3 separate regions of the Homo sapiens genome follow, and all the other regions are linked to region 1. The links are contacts of gene promoters, found by promoter capture Hi-C in blood cells and fetal thymus (Javierre and others, 2016). All regions are on one chromosome and are shown on one strand. Each heading gives the region's core, a stretch centred on a gene start or on the middle of the fragment in contact. The rest is flanking DNA. Distances are from core to core; before and after follow the strand shown. Region 1 holds the start of SREBF1 (sterol regulatory element binding transcription factor 1). Region 2 has its middle 48 kb from the start of NT5M. Region 3 has its middle 75 kb from the start of MED9.

Region 1 (3,807 bases), core at 644-3,143:
GGTGGAGGTCGCAGTGAGCCGAGATCATGCCGCTGCACTCCAGCCTGGGTGACAGAGAGAGACTTTGTCTCAAAACAAAAAACAAAACAAAACAAAACAAAAAACAGTGAGGCAGATCTGTTGTGATGATGACTCCAAAACACCCTCCCTGCCTCTGCAGAGGGACTGCAGAAAGGGTTATTCCCATTTTATAGATACAGTAGCTGAGACTCAGAAGTGAGGTATTGGATCCAGGTCACACAGCAAGCAGGTGAAAACCCAGATCACCTGCCTAGCTCTGAAGAAAATGGTATTTAGGCTTCACCCAGCACTTCCTATCCCACCCCCTCCCTGGGAAGGGCTGTTTAAATTTTCAGGGAAGTCACCAGCTTCCTGCAGCCTCTAGAGTGTTGGTGGGGGTGGGGCACTGAGGAGAAGCCAGCTTTGTTCTCTGTGTTCTCCAGCAGTTGTTCATCTGGAGGGAGTGGGTCCTGGGTGGACCCTTGAGCAGGGCTACTTGGGGAGATGTGGTTTGGCGACCCCTATGACTTCTGGCGCCGCTATTCTGGGTAATTTTCCACCGCAGCCACTTCTGGGAGAGGAACAAAGGGAGCTGGATGTCCAGGCTGAGCCCCAGGGACTTGGGCTCTGTGGCTTCTCTCCCCCACACACCCCTTCTAAAATGCATCATGAATGTTACTCCTGCTTAGGGCGTGGCCAGATAGGCTATATCTGGAGTTTGAGCAAGGCAGTCTGCAGGATGGCTTGACTTATGAAGGTCTGGGGTCGGGAAGGCCTGAGGCCCAGGCCCCTGATGAGTTTCCTGGACTGCCCTCCACCAAGGGTGCTTCTCTCTGCTTGCATACCTCTGGGGACAGGGAGCTCACTGCCTTATCACATTCAGATTCCTGAATGTTAATTCTGGTTTATTTCAACCCACCTCATTGGGACCCCTTCCCTCCTTCCTGCCCCACCTGGCTCTGTCCCTAGGCCACAGAACCAGGTTCGGTTTCCAGCCCTCTTCTCAACAGGGCTGCCTGCTCTGATCTAGTCCCAGCTTGTGATGATCCAGGGCAGCCTGGCTCTGATCTAAAGCACAGCTACCTCTTCCTTGCGGCCCCTATCCTGGCTGCTCCTGGGAATAAGTGCCAAATCTGGGGTCAGACAGCCCTGGGGCCAGTCTTCCTTGGGTACTGGCTTCCTCCTTCAGGAGCTGCACTGGGCCCACTGGTATCCTATCCCTACAGCTGGATCTGGGAGGAAACCAGATGACGAAATTCCAGCCTCTTTCTTTGGCCACTCCTGTCCTCAAGAGGCCAATCTTCTGGTTTCTTTGCAGAGAGGGGGCAGGCTGATCTCACAGGTCATGCTCCCCTCCACATTGTCACTAGCCTCCCAGCCTGCCCGTGAGAAAGCATCATTAGGCCCATGTTACAAATGAGGAAAATTGAGGCAGAGTGATGTAACTGGCCCAGCAGTTACATCAGGCCTGCTCACAACACAGCAGGCCTGGGACCCCTATAACTTGGATCCTGGTCTGTCTTGTTCTAAAGAGTCAAATCTAGGAAATGAGGAAATGAAGTTTGGGATGGGCCCAGGCCTGGGGCTTCCACTCGGCTTCCTTGCTTGGTGCTGGAGAAACAGAGGCCCAGAGAGGGGGCTCGGCTTGCCCGCGTTCCCGCAGCAGCCGGCCAGAGGCCGCTGCCATTGTGCGCGAGGCTGGATAAAATGAATGACTGGAGGGCGCTCTGGAGGAGGGGCCGGCTGAGGGGAGATTTGTGGCGCAGACCGGGGATCAGGGGTCCCCCGCTCTCTCAAGGTGGGGCGGGGCCGTCTATCTGGGAGGGCGGGTCCTCCCCGAAAGGCCCCGCCTCCGCCTCGACCGCCCAGCAGAGCTGCGGCCGGGGGAACCCAGTTTCCGAGGAACTTTTCGCCGGCGCCGGGCCGCCTCTGAGGCCAGGGCAGGACACGAACGCGCGGAGCGGCGGCGGCGACTGAGAGCCGGGGCCGCGGCGGCGCTCCCTAGGAAGGGCCGTACGAGGCGGCGGGCCCGGCGGGCCTCCCGGAGGAGGCGGCTGCGCCATGGACGAGCCACCCTTCAGCGAGGCGGCTTTGGAGCAGGCGCTGGGCGAGCCGTGCGATCTGGACGCGGCGCTGCTGACCGACATCGAAGGTGCGTCAGGGCGGGCAGGGCTTGAAGCTGCGCCGGGTGGCGCGAGTAGGGGGCGCGCAGGTGTCTCCCTGGCCTTTGTCTCCCCCACGGGCGCCAGCTCCGTGCTGTGCTCGCGCGGGACTTCCCGGTGTCTCTGAGCTCGGTGTCCCGAGCCTCACCGAGCCTCCCTGGTTCCCGCGCTAGCGTCTCGGGCCGCGCGCTTGTGGGTGAGGGCTCCTGGGCCGGGCCGGGGTCCCTTGGCGGCTCCGGGCCGGGACACGTGCGCCTCTACGCGTCCCAGGCCGGGTGCCGCCCGACCGGTGACTCTCCAGCCCTGTGATGGCCACGGCTGAAGCTGGGGACCCAGGCGTCGCCGAAGCTCCGCCCCAGCCCCAGCCGTGACGTAATTGCGAGGTTACTCACGGTCATTCCCTCCGGCCCGAGAGTTCAGCTCGGCGTCGGAGCTCTTGCGCATGCGCATGGGCGCTGCCTCGCGCCCTTCCCCCGCCTCGTGTCGGGTTCTCCCGGTCTGCGACGGGCACAGCCTCCGCACTCATTCACTGACATCCACCGAATGCCAGGCCCCGTCTTAGGCACCGAGGGTTTACAGACAGACCTGGGTACCCCCTCTTTTAGGGAACACAAAAATCTCCCGGGAAACCAAACGGGTATTTAGTTGTACCTTGGGTGGAGCGAGGCTGGGGGAGGGCAGGGATGTGGCTACTTTGGGTAGAGCGGTCAGGGACTTCTAAGCTGAGACCTGAGGGTCACCCCCAGGACCAGCAAGGAAAGATGTTTTCCAGGCCACGGCAAGGGAAGGGCAAAGGCCTCGAGGCAGGGCCTAAGTGTGAGGAGTTAGAGGCTTGCAAAGGAGTGAGGTCAGGGAGGAGGAGGACGCAAACCGACTTGGTCGGCCAGGGAAAGGGCGGAGCAGAACAGTGGCACCGGCTTCCATCTTTGGAGCATCACCCTGGCTGTGATGAGAAGGGGTTTGGGGCCAATGGTGGCACCAAGTGCCAATTAGGAGGCCCGTTGCTTCCATTTTGTAGATAGAGCAAACGGAAGCCCCTAGCAAATTGCCTGCATGGTTTCTGTGCAGGAGTTTTAGCAGCACTAGCTAAGTTGCACTTGGTTGATGAGGAAACTGAGGCCAAGGTCGCAGGAACAAGATGCCTAGACTCACAGCCTGAATGGACATGTCCATGGAACCCGTGGCCACCCTGGGGTTGGCAAAACAGATATATCTATGCCACCACCACTCCTGCCCTACTGCAGCCTTGCAGATGAGCCCAGCTGGTTGCCAGCCCCAGAAGCTTCCCAGCCCTCCCTCCTTCCCCCTGGGGCTGGGCTAGGGGAGGACCCCAGAGGAGAGGCCCTGATTGTGAGGCTTTTCCAAAACAGCCTCCCCTATCCCTGGCACGAGGGGTTGTCCTTCACTGCCCTCTGGAGTGATGAACCCTGAAATCCCAAGCCCTAGGGAGATCTGGGCCTGACTCAACTACCAGTTCCACATCACTGGGCCCAGTGAGTGTAGTCCCAAGAGGCAACGTGACCAAGCCAGGAGGACATGCGCTTTGGGGTCAGAACTTGAACCTGGACACTCCTCACTTCCTTTGTCATCCTGCTCAAGCCCTCTCACCCTCTAAACCTTAGTTTCCACCTCCAGAAAAATGATG
Region 2 (3,807 bases), core at 747-3,246, 490 kb after region 1:
CTTCCTCTGCCCTGGGCTGCGGCTCCTGCCGCCGAGCTTCCCTGCCTGGCTGGGCTGCCCCAGGCCTCCCTCCCTCCCCAGCATTTGGGCCCCTCGTGAATGAGGACACATTTTACAGAGTCATGTGACCCCCCGCCCCGTGACCACCCAGCAGCCCATGTAAGAAGACCACGTGATGGAACCCGAGGGCTGAAAAGTGCCATTAGTGCCACCCCAGGGTGCACGGGACGCAGAGCAGGCCCTGCCGCAGTACTCGCCACACAGCAGCCTCTGTCGCCTGCGGCAAACAGGCCACATCCCCAGCCCATCTGTTCATTGGAGGGTTTAGACCCAAATGCTGGAAGTAAACTTAATCTGGTGAGACTGCTCCCACGCCTGTCCTCCACGGCACTGGCCATAGCCCCTCCAACATGAGTCATCGCCAGCCTGGGGCCGGCTGTTATTGACCCGGATGTCCTGGTGCGAAGCCTGTTCTGCTTATGGTGACTTCAGACCAGGCCACCCACCCCCTGAGCCCGCTGTGAGGCGTCACTGCACTTGTCACAGGCTCTGCTGCCAGGTTTGCCGCCACCACCACCCCTCGCTATTTCTGGGCCCTTTCTACGACATCATCTGCAACCACTGTGGGCCAGAGCTCAGCTGCTCGCTCAGAGCATGGGCATGGTGTGCCAGCTGCTCTGCCCTCCAGGGAGCGTCCACAGGCTGGGAAGCAGAAGCGGACAGTGCAGTGAGAGAGCAGGAAGGACGCGAAAGCCTGGTCAGACTGTGTGACCCCCTGGGGGTGAGCGTGCCCTGGGCCTCCCAGGCCAACGAGCTTTGCGCACGTGCACATGGGTGGGTTTGAGCTGCGTTTCTGACACACGCAAGTGGAAGTCTGGAACCTGGAAGGGGGCCAAGGTGGCGGGGGGCGGGGTGGGCAGTGAGGACCCCACCCAAGCTGGGTAGGGGCTGCAGTGGGGAAGCAGCCAGGGACTTGGGCCAATTGCCCACTGAGGCTAAAGCTGAAGGGACCCAGCACAAGAACGTCTCGTGCTGGGACACGCTGGCCCACATGCCACCTGCTAAGGCTCATTAAGGGGTTGCCCTCCGCCGGGGCGGGCTGCCCAAGTGCAGCAGAGACCGGCTCCCCACAGCACAGGTGCAAATGGACTGATGAGGGATCCCCAGCGACACATGTGCCCTGGGAAGTGTGTGGTCTGAAGTCCTCACATCCCTCGGAGCCTGGAAGGGGGTGAGTGACAGGACAGAGGCTCAGCAACGCTGGCCAAGGAATCTGTCCTTCCTAGGCATGGGACACCCCGCTCAGTGTGGGGGTCCCCATCAGCAGCTTGCGCAGTCCCTGGGCCCTCTGGGGTGGAGACGGGTAGAGGGCCCAGCCAGAAGGGCTCTGCCACATCGTCCTTCACAAAAACGTCTGAGGAAAAGGCCACGTGGACAAAAGGAGGGCCTCCTGAGAAACACTGAGCAAGGCTGACCCAGGTCGAACGCCGCATGGCCTCGGGAACGTAACTGCACCTCCCGAGCCTGCCTCCTCCCCCCCACAGGTGGGAATGGCACTGCCGTGGACTGGAGAAGGATCAGAAGCTTTCCTCACATGCATGGCCTCATCTGGCCTGACGACCCCACGGGGTGAGGACTCACAGCCTACATGTGTCAAGAAGAGCTGGCCTAGGGTGGGGAACCTGGGCCAGTGAGCCCTGGACAGGCCCAGGCTGCTCTCCCCCTGGGCTCAGGCACTCGAGGAGTCCATGCAGGAGATACCAGGGGTCCCTCAGAAGGTGACCTGTGGTCAGCCCACCCCTGGTCAGAACCCCAGGCTCGGGGAACCACAAACCCCAGAGAGGTCTGAGGGCCAGGAGCAGTGTTCCCATCCTCAGCAGGGTCCCCAGGGTGGGGGCGAGGCCAGGCAGCAGTGGCCCCTCACCGAGGACAGATGGACACCCTGCACAGACAGGGATGAAGGGCCAAGGGGGAGCAGCATGGGGACAATGACAAGGCCCCTCTGCTAGAGGCCCCCCTGCTGGAGGCCCCGCTGCTGAAGAGCAGGTAGGGGAGTCAGATTCCTCCACCCTCTGGCAGGACAGAGAAACAGGGGCACATTCCCCACATACCTGAGCGTGCGGCCACGATTCCTACATGCTCCACAAACCTGCTTTCCCAGCGCCCTCTCCACCTGGGGGATGTCACCCCTTCCAGGGGCTCTGGTCCTAGAGCTCTGAATCTTTCCAATATTTTCAAATGAATCACAACTTTCACCGAGAGCTGAGTCACTGAGAGGCCAGCCTGGTGGATAAGGGAGGGATAGAGCTGATGTGCCATGGGGCAGAACCAGGCCTAGCTCTCCTAACGGGGGTGGATCTTCTTTTCTGGGGTTCAAAAACTGGTTCTGAGGCAAAACACAAGCTTCCCAAGCTTTCAAGAAAGTGACCTTCATTTCAATCAGAATTTTTTTGTTGTTGAGATGGAATTTTCTCTGCCACCCAAGCTAGAGTGCAGTGGCGCGATCTTGGCTCACTGCAACCTCTGCCTCCCGGGTTCAAGCGATTCTCCTGCCTCAGCCTCTCGAGTAGCTGGGATTACAGGCGCCCGCCACCACGCCCAGCTAATTTTTGTATTTTTAGTAGAGACAGGGTTTCACCATGTTGGCCAGGCTGCTCTCGAACTCCTGGCCTCAACTGATTCATCTGCCTCAGCCTCCTAAAGTTTTGGGATTACAGGCGTGAGCCACTGCGCCTGGCCTCAATCAGGAGACTGTTGACACGATCATGAATTTGGGGTCTCAGCCAAGGTCAGTGCAATGGGGACGGCAGCAGCCGGCTGAGCATCCAGGTGCAGACGGCACCTCACTCATCAACGCCTGCTTCCCATTTCCACCTCAGCAAGCTCCCCCCAGCCCTGGGTCTCTGCAGGGCGTCTCAGCCAGGGGCTGGCCCCTTCTTCCACATAGGAGACCGTGCTGGGACCTGAGGCCCCCGGGGCCTCCTCCTGCTGCTCCACAGTGCCTCGGCAGCCCCAGGCACCCCTCGAAGTGCTTGTTAACGTCACAGCAAGTTGCTTTGAGACCGTCGGGTGGGGTCATGTTCTGAAACATTTTTGCCCCTGCAATTATTTTTTTTTCTTTAAATAAATTATGTGGCTGAAGCAGCTGCCCACCTCGGGGTGAGTGATGATAACAGCAGAGAACAAATGTGGCAATTTGGAGCATGGAGTTCCTAAACTGACCTTTAAAACTGATGGCAATTATCAGTCTAAAAGGTTTCGCAACAGTCCGTCTCCTGAAGGATTCAGAGCATGTTACTCTTGCGGATGCTTGGTTAGGAGCTGACGGAGACTGCCCAGCCCTGCCCTGCCCTAGACTCAACAAAGATTCCCTGGCTGGTGTAAGAGGCAGGAGGGAATGTCCCCCAGTGGTACCCCACCAGGCCCTGCTCCCCTCTTTGTGGACAGAAGGCCTCAGGGCCCCTCCACAGCTCCCTCGGGGTCCGTGAACACTGCTCTCAGCAACCCGACCCACACCCCTGCACCAAGTCAGCCCCCAGGCCCGGGGCTCTCCCTGGGCAGGAGGAGGGAGGGAGAAACCAGGATGTGGCTGAGAAAATCTGGACAGGATTGAGTTTCTGTCATCAGAAGGACCCCCAGGATGGAAACAAGCCAAGTTGTTTTCTGCACCCCAAGCTATAGTCACAATGTTTTCAGGGTGTGGCTGGCCCCAGGAGAGTCCCTGTGACTCGAGTCTTCTGATGGGGCAGTCCCTCTCAGGACAGGGCGTGGAGCAGGTGGACAGGCCCTGCTGGGGACAAGAAAGGA
Region 3 (3,807 bases), core at 714-3,213, 440 kb after region 1:
CTGCAGATATGTTCATACTTAGGGATTCATAGCCCAAGCCCCTAACCTGAGCCACACGGCCTTCTTCCAGGACCCCAGGCCTCCCCACAACCCATCAGGGAGAGGTGGGCTCAGACTGTTCTCTATGAGGCCAGCTGGTGACTATTCTAAACACCAGCCTTGTGTTCCCTAGTCTGCAAGAAGCTCTGCAAATTTTTGTGGCCGTTGGTCATCTGCTTTCTTGATCTTTTCTTTTCTTTTTTTAAGAGAGGCAAGTCTTTCTCTGTTACCCAGGCTAGAGTGCAGTGGCACAGTCACAGCCCACTGCAGCTTCAGCCTCCCAGGCTCAAGTGATCCTTTTGTCTCAGCCTCAGCCTCCCAGTAGCTGGGACTACAGGTGCATGACAGCGCACCCACCTAATTTTTCAAATTTTTTTTGGAGATGGAATATTGCTGTGTTACCTAGGCTCGTCTTGAACCCCTGGGATCAAGTGATTCTCCCGCCTCGGCCTCCCAAAGTGTCGGGATTTCAGGCATGAGATTTCTTTAAATTGAAGTAAAATCCACACACTATAAAACTAACAGTTTTAGAGTGAACAATTTCACGGCATTTAGTACATTCTCAGTGCTGTGCAGTCATCACCTCTATCTAGCTCCCGAGCACTTTCATCCCCTGACAGGAACTCCATTCCCATGAGCTGTCACTCCCCACTCCTCCCTTCCTCCGGCCCCAGGCACCCAGCAGTCTGCTTCCTGTCTCTGTTGGTTTACCTATTCTGGATATTTCATATAAGTGGAATTGTATGTGATTTCTTGTGACTGCCATCCTCCCTCTGCATAGTGTTTTCAAGGTCCACTTGTCTTGTACCTTTTTGTGGCTGAATAATATCCCATCGTACAGGTATATCGTACCTCCGTGAGGACCTACAGGGCATCTGACACCTTATGTATGTAGGCTTAGTTTTCCCAACCACCCAAGAACTGGGCACTGTCGTTTGCATTTTTTAGATGAAGAGACTGAGGGTCCGAGAGGCTGCAGAACTTGTCCAGGGTCTGGAAGGTAAGAAGTGTCCAAGCTTGGATCCACATCTGCAGTTGTTACCACTCATCTGTGGATGCACAATTGGGCTGCTTTCACCTTTTGGCTGTTATGAATACTGCTGCTGTAAACACTTATGTATAAGTTTTTGTTCAAATACATGTTTTCTTTTTTTTTTTGAGATGGAGTCTTTCTCTGTTGCCCAGGCTGGAGTGCAGTGGCGCGATCTCGGCTCACTGCAAGCTCCACCTCCTGGGTTCACGCCATTCTCCTGCCTCAGCCTCCTGAGTAGCTGGGACTACAGGCGCCTGCCACCACGCCCAGCTAATTTTTTGTATTTTTAGTAGAGACGGGGTTTCACCGTGTTAGCCAGGATGGTCTCGATCTCCTGACCTCGTGATCTGCCTGCCTCGGCCTCCCAAAGTGCTGGGATTACAGGCGTGAGCCACCATGCCCGGCCACCTGTTTTCAATTCTTTTGTGTAGACACCTCGGAGTGGAATTGCTGGGCCATATGGTGACTCTAGGTTTAACTTGTGAAGAACATTTTTAAACATGTTCCGTGTGGGTGCATATTTTCTCTTTAACTAGAGAGCAGGGCTCTCTTGTTCTTTGGCCCCCTCCATCGTGGCCAGTCCTGGCTCAGCGTGCAGACAAGAGGCCCCCTGAGCTGTGGTGGCACCAGAGGAGTGAGTGTGTGGACCTCACTCCACCCCAAGTGCTGGGATGTTGACTCATGGTCTTGCCAGGCACTCACGTGACTGCTGGTGGGGACCCAGCCTACATATCCTCTGGGCCTTTCTTGGATGCCTCTCCACCTCTTGCTGCCCTCGGGTTCCCTCACTTCCCCCATTCACACTGGAGCTGACCTTGGTCTGATGTGTCTCCACAAGTCCCGCCTCCCCCACGGATGCCCTGTACAGCGGTACAGGCTGTGCACTGCCCAAGGGCATCCTGCCAAAGGCGCAGTGCTCATTGACATTCAGTCCATGCTCCGCTAGCCAAGCCCTGCAACCCTTGGGACTGCAGCCACCATTAGAGGGCGCTTTCTTCCTTCACACAACGCACCACATGGGCTAATGGCAGCCCCCAAGCCCTCGGTGGACCCAGCACTGACGGGATGTGCCCCTTGCTCACTCCCCTGGAAGGGGCAACTCTGCCCACTCTACATTCACTGATGACCTTCCTTCTCCCTGGGGACGTTCATACCCTCAACCTAGGCTCCAGATATTTTCTATGCCCCCTGAGGGGGTGGGTCCATGCCGCCAGTGGGGGTGCCCTGGTGGCCCACTGTAAAGGACTCTCTGCCCCTTACCCCATTCTCACTCCTGAGAGTTCTAGCACCAGATGCCCAGGACGTGCGTGTGTGCCTGCTCACTGGACAGAGGTTCCTGTGTAAACACTGCCATCGGGACCCCAGACACACGCTCCATGTGCACAGACATGCGCTCACGTGGGTGTGTGGGTTAGACATGACATACAGGGATCTGGCCTTCCCTTGCATTGAAACCTAGTTGGCGGGTTGGGAGGGTATGTGGTTAAATCCGAGCAAGAGACACAGACCCCATGAGTGTAATCACATGCCTAAACCAGGCCAGGAGACTCGGGCACACGATGTGGGTTTGTCTGCTATGTGGGCACTGGACTCTGGGAAGCCTGAGCCCCTTGGAGCCCCCGCTGGTGGGACAGGCTGGAGCTAGGAGCTTAGCAACTCGGGTTCCTGGAAGGTAGAGAAACATAAGAGCAAATCAGGAGACAAGAGGAGGCAAGGAAAGCTGGAGGGCAAAGAGGCCCCTGGAAGCCCCTCTAAGCCCAATTTCCCAGTGTTGACAACGAAAACAAAATCAAGCTTTCGAAGAACTAAAGTTCATTTCATTCAGGAGTCTGAGGACTCCAGACCACATCTACTGCCTCAGGGCAGTTCTGTTGAAGCCCACGGCTTACATACAGGTGGTGGAGGTTCAGCAAGTGCAAAATCACATCGGACTTGCTCAGAAGTTACGTTGAAGCAGCAGCCCATCAAGGTGTGGGTGTAAGAGCACCTCTGGTTATAGATGGCAGAGGCATCGTCATTAAGCCTGTCAGAAAGGCAAGGACTAGAGCTCTTCTCTTTTAAGGAATCAAGTGACTCAGGCAAGAGACGTGCGGGGCCGGGCGCTTCATCCTGCTTTGCCTTCAAAGCATCTTTCCAGAGAGCTGCACGTTGTCACAGAGTCAGGGGTTCAAGCAGAAATGAGCCAACGTGGCTTCTTACGCATGCTACTTCGTCTTACAGTGGGAAGAATAAAAATGCTTCATCCTCATCCCTGGGTGCTACAGCCTTTGCAGCCTCCTTGTCGGAGTGGGAATGGTCGTCAGCGGCAGGCACATCTGAGAGCAGGGCACACCCTGAGACAGGGCAGGATCGGAGCAACATAAGGGCACATCTTGAGGCCCTGACTGGGGCCCCAGGCTGGCTGCTTTTCTTCCCACCCTAGAGGGTATTTCTGTACCTCTCTACCACAAGGCGCTCGAGGAAGGCTTACTGAGAATGCTGCAGTGGAACAAAGTCTGAAGGAGGTGAGGGAGCAAGTTCTGTCTGTGTAGTGTGGAAAAGCATTGCAGGAGAGGGTACAGCCAATGCGAAGGCCCTGAGGCAGTACCGTGAGTGGCCAGAATGAAATGAGCAGGCAGCAAGGGGAGCAGGCATGCCACCAGGCCAGAGCACTCACGGGGGCTAGTGGGAGGACTCTGGCCTCATCCTGAGGGAGGTGGGAGCCCTGGAGGGTTTGTGGGGAGGAAGGAGGATGA

The links. The method cuts DNA at HindIII sites, captures the fragments that hold promoters and counts their contacts. A CHiCAGO score of 5 or more calls a contact.
Region 2: a fragment that was not itself captured here is called in contact with the fragment with the promoter of SREBF1 in region 1 in 1 of 17 cell types (fetal thymus); the score reaches 6.7 in fetal thymus.
Region 3: a contact is called between a fragment that was not itself captured here and the fragment with the promoter of SREBF1 in region 1, in 1 of 17 cell types (fetal thymus). The highest score is 5.3, in fetal thymus.

Annotation. Positions count from the first base shown.
Region 1 is chr17:17,835,072-17,838,878 of GRCh38, reverse strand. SREBF1 (sterol regulatory element binding transcription factor 1) reads left to right here and starts at 1,893. Exons shown (of 19, transcript NM_004176.5): 1 at 1,893-2,152. The coding sequence starts at 2,062. RefSeq lists enhancers at 312-1,213, 1,214-2,116, 2,117-3,018 and silencers at 1,885-2,044, 2,235-2,514. The HindIII fragment of the contact is 13,614 bases long and covers 1-3,446 here.
Region 2 is chr17:17,349,024-17,352,830 of GRCh38, reverse strand. No RefSeq gene overlaps it. Among named protein-coding and RNA genes, the nearest start is that of NT5M, 48 kb to the right of the region's middle. RefSeq lists enhancers at 262-556, 821-1,400. The HindIII fragment of the contact is 819 bases long and covers 1,587-2,405 here.
Region 3 is chr17:17,399,620-17,403,426 of GRCh38, reverse strand. No RefSeq gene overlaps it. Among named protein-coding and RNA genes, the nearest start is that of MED9, 75 kb to the left of the region's middle. RefSeq lists an enhancer at 1-73. The HindIII fragment of the contact is 1,811 bases long and covers 1,058-2,868 here.